2 separate regions of the Homo sapiens genome follow, and region 1 is linked to region 2. The links are contacts of gene promoters, found by promoter capture Hi-C in human tissues and cell types (Jung and others, 2019). All regions are on one chromosome and are shown on one strand. The core of a region is centred on a gene start or on the middle of the fragment in contact, and the rest is flanking DNA. Distances in the headings are between cores, read along the strand shown. Region 1 holds the start of CHADL (chondroadherin like). Region 2 overlaps LOC105373042 (a long non-coding RNA gene).

Region 1 (3,198 bases), core at 584-3,083, 140 kb before region 2:
GCTCTCTCTCCTCCACTAGCTGATGACTCTGCAGAGCAGAGACCACACCTCACCCTGCCACAGCCCGCCTCTCCACCACAGGGTCTGCAGTGAATTCAGTATCGATCTATGGGTCACCTACTTATTCCATTCACACAGTAAGGATTTTAAATAGATCATCTCCCTGTTACTGGTTTTTATTATTCCCATTTTACAGAAGTGTAAACTGAGGCTCAAAGAGAAGTAATTTGCCAAGGTCTCCCGGGCAGGCGGTGGCAGATCAACTGGTGCCCAGCCCAGGCTCCTCCCTCTGGGTCCCCACCTTGCCCCACTGCCACTCTGTGCCTGTGCTCCTGCCCTGCTGACCTCAGGGATGGCGTCTGGCACCTCAGTGAGGTTCTGGTACCGGCAGGCAACGTGTCGCCTGGAGTTGTCACAGATGCAGGCCTGTGGGCAGCGCTGGGCGGCGGCCTGCCTAGCCGGGGCCAGCAGCAGAAGTACAAGAAGCGGCAGCACCAAGGGGACATGGGTGGAGCTCCGGGGCCTGGGACGGGGAGGGAGAGTCTGTTGTGCACAAGGGCCGAGGCCACATGCTGTCCCTCACTTAGTCCCAGCCATGGTGCAGCTCCTGCCCCAAAAACCCCTCAGAGCCTCCTCCTTTGGGCCCAGGAAAGTGCCAATCACCCTGAGCCTCCCTGCCCCCCACCCCCCACGCAGTGGAGGTCCTATGATTAGTCCTGTTTTACATGGGAGGAAACCGAGGCTCAGAAAAGTGACCTGGTTAGTCCCTTTGCCTCTGCCCAATGGCTCAGTGAGGACTTGCTGACTGTGAGAATGACTCCAGTTCAGAGCATGTTCTCAGGCTGTGGTGAGGCTCTGGTCCAGGGTAGGCTCGGAAGCAGCCTGTCCTCAGACTGATATGATGCCAGCTCCCAGGTGGCAGGAGCATAATGGTACCCCCCAGAAAGGAGGGAGGCATCCAGTCCGGGTCCTTGAGTCTTTTTTTGTTTGTTTGTTTAAATAGAGACAAGCCTTGCTCTGTTGCCCAGGCTGGAGTCTGGAGTGCAGTGGAATGACTATGGCTTACTGCAGCCTTCACCTCCTGGGCTAAAGTGATCCTCTCACCTCAGCCTCTTGAGTAGCTGGGACTACAGGCACACACCACCACGCCTGGCTAATTTTTTAATTACTTCTGGTAGAGACAGGGTCTCGCTATGTTGCCCGGGCTGGTCTTGAACTCCTGGCCTCAAGTGATTGTCCCACCTTGGCCTCCCAAAGCGCTAGGATGATAGATCACCTCCCCTGCCCAGCTGGCCCCTCTGTTCTCAGCCTGTGTCAGGCATGGCCTCTCCCCCATCGCTGGGCTGTTCCCCGGCCCCCAGGAGCCTCCCCCTCGCTGCTCACTGGACTATCGTCTGTTTTGGAGTCTCCTTTGGGTCCCAGGCTCCAGCCCCTGCGTTGGAGTTGGTGGCTTCTCCAGAGCCTGTGGTGAAGGCTGTGCCTCAGGGCAGGCCAGGGAGGGGACCCATGGGGACAGATCGCTGAAGCGACAAGCATTCATAATGCAGGGACCACTGCTGGGCTCTCAGACAAGCCCCAGAGGACCAGTTCCTGGCAGTGGCCACATTGCCACGTGTCTCAGAGCCCACCTTGGGAGACCCCCTTCCTGGAGAACCCCAGGAAGTCCCCAGAGCCCCTGCCCGCCAGCCTCTGAGAGGCCCAGAGGGGGCAGAGACTTACCTGAGGCCACTGAGCTGCTCTGAATCCCCCCTTGCACCATCGGGCCCAAAGACTCACCCCTCCATGCCGCCTGGAACTGCTGGTCCAGCCTGGAGGCGCAGCGCAGGGACAGGCTGTCCCCGCCTGGCAGGAGCCCCCCTCCACGGCCCGCAGGCCTGGCAGCTGGGACAGGGCTGAATGGGAGGCATTGTCGGCAGACCAGGCAAGCCAGGCTTCCCCAGGCTGAGGTGAAGAAGGGGCGGGCGGCGGGCGGGAGCAGCGGCTGGAGTTACAGGGCCTCCTGCCTGCCCCAGCCGAGGACTGAGGCCCCGGCCTGAATCCTTGGGCCAGCCCGACAGGGAGGGGGCACCAGCAGCTGGCCCGGGAGTCAGCAGTCCTGGGCTCCCTCCTGCCATGTGGGCTGCCCTCCCAGAGGCTGCTTCCTAGTCTCTGAAAAACACATCCCATTAATAAGTAGCTCTGAGGTCACAGTGGGGGTTCAGGCCCGCACCTGGCACACAGTGGGTGCTTCAGAACAGGTGACCCTTTCCTTCCGTTTGTGCTTACACATTGACATAAATAGTTTAATACTGGACACACAGGATTCTAGACACTCATTTTTTTCACTTAACCTCAGATTACTGGGAGTTATCCAAATTGACTCTTCCGAATCTCATTATTCTGTGGTATATAGTATTCCATTGTGTAAATGTATCACATTGACTTAGCCATTCATCTTGGACATTGGCTACCTCCAATTTTTTGCTATTTACAAACAATATTGCAAAGAATATCCAAATACGCATCTTCCCAAGCTCGTGTTTGTTTTTTAAATAATACATCCAGACCATGGCCAATGTTCATGTATCTTGATTTTTCAGATTCCTGCTTCTGATGGAATTGCATCTTCTACTGTTTGTTCCTTTAATTGGAAACAGGGGTCAGGCACAGTGGCTCATGCCTGTAATCCCAGCACTTTGGGAGGCTGAGGTGGGAGGATCACTTGAGCCCAGGAGTTTGAGACCAGCCTGGGCAACACAGACTCTGTCTCAAGAGAAAAAAAAAAGGCCGGGCGCGGTGGCTCACGCCTGTAATCCCAGCACTTTGGGAGGCGGAGGCGGGTGGATCACGAGGTCGAGATCAAGACCATCCTGGCTAACACAGTGAAACCCTATCTCTACTAAAAGTACAAAAAATTAGCCGGGTGTGGTGGCAGGCGCCTGTAGTCCCAGCTACTTGGGAGGCTGAGGCAGGCAAATGGCATGAACGCGAGAGCCGAGATGGCGCCACTGCACTCTAGCCTGGGCAACAGAGTGAAACTGTCTCAAAAAAGAAAAAAAATATATACATATATATATATATATATATATATATATATATATATATATATATATATATGTATGTGTGTGTGTATACACTTATGTGTGTATATATTTATATATAATAAAAATATAAATGTATATGTTTATATATATTTATATATGTTAAACAATGAACATC
Region 2 (3,308 bases), core at 686-3,185:
GTAGCTAACCCCTCACAGCTGGCAATTAAGCACGATAGAGAACGTGTTTGCAACGCTCCTGCAGTATTTGTGACACATCATCTACCCTCTGGTTATCCAGGGGAAAAAACTCTCTCTGGGGAGTGTCAGTACATGAACACCAAGTTCTGGAGGCTTAACCCGCTGGTCTCACTTCTCACCAGCGTCACTTGCCTGTTAGGGTAGCTGCTCCAGGCTGGGAGATGAGTGGAGTAGGCATTATTCGTTTTGGATAACTACAGCTAAAAAAAGAAAATCTAAATCTTTACTTCCTCTTACTACATCCCATCTTTCTCATAAACACGTGTTAGAACCTTCCACTGTTATCATTAATCATTGTCTAATACTTTGAGAATGGGTTTTTCTTCCCAGCAATAATGTCGTATTAGCCATGAGACTATATAGGTATGATTCTAAGCCATCAAGTCTCCTCATGGCCAAACTAGCAGGTTTTTTAAAAAGCTTCCTTAGCTTCCTTTTTTTTTTTTTTTTTTTTTGAGACAGAGTCTCATTCTGTCCCACAGGCTGGAGTGCAGTGGCACGATCTCGGCTCACTGCAACCTCCGCCTCCCACGTTCAAGCAATTCTCCTGCCTCAGCCTCCCGAGTAGCTGGGATTACAGGCACTCGCCACCACGCCCAGCTAACTTTTGCCTTTTTTTTTTTTTTTTTTTTGAGAGGGAGTCTCGCTCTGTCGCTCAGGCTGGAGTGCAGTGGCGTGATCTCGGCTCACTGCAAGCTCCGCCTCCCGGGTTCACGCCATTCTCCTGCTTCAACCTCCCGAGTTGCTGGGACTACAGGTGCCCGCCACCACACCCAGCTAATTTTTTGTATTTTTTAGTAGAGACAGGGTTTCACTGTCAGCCAGTATGGTCTCGATCTCCTGATCTTGTGATCCTCCCGGCTCGGCCTCCCAAAGTGCTGGGATTACAGGCGTGAGCCACTGTGCCCGGCTATATTCTTAATAGAGACAGGGTTTCACCACGTTGGCCAGGCTGGTCTCGAACTCCTGACCTCAGGTGATCCGCCTGCCTCAGCCTCCCAAAGTGCTGGGATTACATGGGTGAGCCACCACGCCCAGCCCTGTATTGGTTTAATCAGTTTCCTTGGAATGTCCTTTGTCTAGGTTAGCTTCCCCTAAAGGTGTTTAAGTTTCGCCACACACAGAATTCTCACTAACAATTCTACAACACAACAAATTTTCTGTACACAATTAACTATTTTCACTACAGAGAGTGACACAGGCACCACACTAACCTCTGGGATAATGGATATGCCAACCAGTTTTAGTAAAATTATGAAAACTAAATTTGTTGAAGGTTTGCAACTGTGCGCCTACGCAAATTGGCTCACAGAAACCCCGTAAGGTAGGCCAGGCGCGGTGGCTCACGCCTGTAATCCCAGCACTTTGGGAGACGCGGGTGGATCACCTGAGGTCAGGAGTTCGAGACCAGCCTGGCCAATGTGGTAAAACCCCGTCTCTATAGAAAATACAAAAAATTAGGCGGGCACGGTGGCGGGCTCCTGTAGTCCCAGCTACTCCGGAGGCTGAGGCAGGAGAATGGCGGGAAGCCGGGAGGCAGCGCTTGCAGTGAACCGAGATCCCGCCATTTGCACTCCAGCCTGGGCTACAGAGTGAGACTCTGTCTCGGAAAAAAGAAAAAAAAAATTAGCCGTACGTGGTGGTGCACGCCTGCAATCCCAGCTACTCAGGAGGCTGAGGCAGGAGAATCGCTTGAACTCAGGAGGCAGAGGTTGCAGTGAGCCGAGATCCCGCCATTGCACTCCAGCCTGGGCAACAAGGGCAAAACTCCGTCTCAAAAACAAAAAACAAAAAACAAAAACACCATAAGGTAGAGCCTGCCCTAACTCCATTTGGCATAAAAGGAAAAAACGCTGGGTGCGGTGGCTCACGCCTGTAATCCCAGCACTTTGGGATGCCGAGGCGGGTGGATCACCGGAGGTCAGGAGTTCGAGACCAGCCTGACCAACATGGAGAAACCCCGTCTCTACCAAAAATACAAAATTAACCCCGTCTCTACTAAAAATACAAAATTAGCCGGGCGTGGTGACGCATGCCTGTAATCCCAGCTATTCGGGAAGCTGAGGCAGGAGAATCGCTTGAACCTGGGAGGCGGAGGTTGCGGTGAGCCGAGATCGCGCCATTGCACTCCAGCCTGGGCAACAACAGCAAAACTCCGTCTCAAAAAAAAAAAAAAGAAAAAAAGAAAAGAAAAGAAAAGAAAATAAAAAGAAAAGGAGGCCTGAAAAGGTAAAGCAATCGAGGCATCAGATTCAGAAAATGACTGAGGTTCAATTACAGTGGCAGTGAGAGCTTGAATTTTGGAATCAGACCTATCATCCTGTCTCTACCACCACCCAAAGTCCTTCAAATCTCTTGCTTTCCAGGCCTGGTCAGCTACCCAACTTCTTTTTCCTCCTTACCCCGCCGCAAAATTATTTTTATTTATTTATTTTTTTGACATGGAGTCTCCCTCTGTCGCCCAGGCTTGACTGCAGTGGCGCGATCTCGGCTCCCTGAAACCTCCACCTCCCAGGTTCAAACCGATTCTCGTGCCTCAGCTTCCCCAGTACCTGGGATTACAGGCGCCAGCCACCATGCCCGTCTAATTATTTCTGTACTTACAGTAGTGTCGGAGTTTCGCCCTGTTGGCCAGGCTGGTCTCGAACTCCTGACCTCAGGTGATCCGCCACCTCTGCCTCCCAAAGTGCCGGGATTACAGGCGTGAGTCACCAAGCCCAGCCCCAGCAAAATTCTGATTGCATCAGCTTGATAACTTTTAGCTGGCTGTGGGTGTCTGGATCATGCATCTACCCCCTGAACCAAGGACTATCACTATACCACCCCCCCAACCCCTCCTGCTAGAAGGGCTGGGCCACTGTAGGGATGCTGGATAAACAAGCCAAGCTCTCTGCCTTCCGGGAGTTAAGCGGGGAGTCTAATGTTGCCTGGGTTTGCAGCGGAGTCTGATCTGTACTATAAAGAGGTACAAAGTTCTGAGCGCTGTTTAGGAGCAGCTTTCCATTTGTGTACCGCGCCACATATTACATTTTTACGGATTTCTGCGGAACTCCCGGGGAGGCTTTATATTTTAAGAGAGGAGGTGGTTCTCCCACAAAACGTGGCATCGGTACCTGGTGTCAAGGAGGTTTTTGTTTTCTAGGTAAAAGAAGGGAGAGTTCTAGAAAGGAAAAGAATTTCACATCTGTTTGGGACTGTGGAGATTCTCTAGCCCAACCTCTTAATTTTATGGCCGAGGAAACAAGCTC

Evidence for each region. The method cuts DNA at HindIII sites, captures the fragments that hold promoters and counts their contacts. A contact is called where the count stands out against the background at its distance.
Region 1: the fragment with the promoter of CHADL here is called in contact with a fragment that was not itself captured in region 2 in 1 of the 25 tissues and cell types used here (dorsolateral prefrontal cortex).

The regions. Positions count from the first base shown.
Region 1 is chr22:41,239,098-41,242,295 of GRCh38, forward strand. It overlaps CHADL (chondroadherin like), which reads right to left and starts at 1,834. Exons shown (of 6, transcript NM_138481.2): 1 at 1,777-1,834; 2 at 346-523. The coding sequence starts at 1,784. RefSeq lists enhancers at 1,437-1,937, 1,938-2,438. The HindIII fragment of the contact is 27,215 bases long and covers 1-3,198 here.
Region 2 is chr22:41,377,672-41,380,979 of GRCh38, forward strand. The region is part of intron 1 of LOC105373042 (a long non-coding RNA gene); the gene reads right to left. It also overlaps a transcript of TEF not described here. Among named protein-coding and RNA genes, the nearest start is that of TEF, 2.6 kb to the right of the region's middle. The HindIII fragment of the contact is 7,689 bases long and covers 1-3,308 here.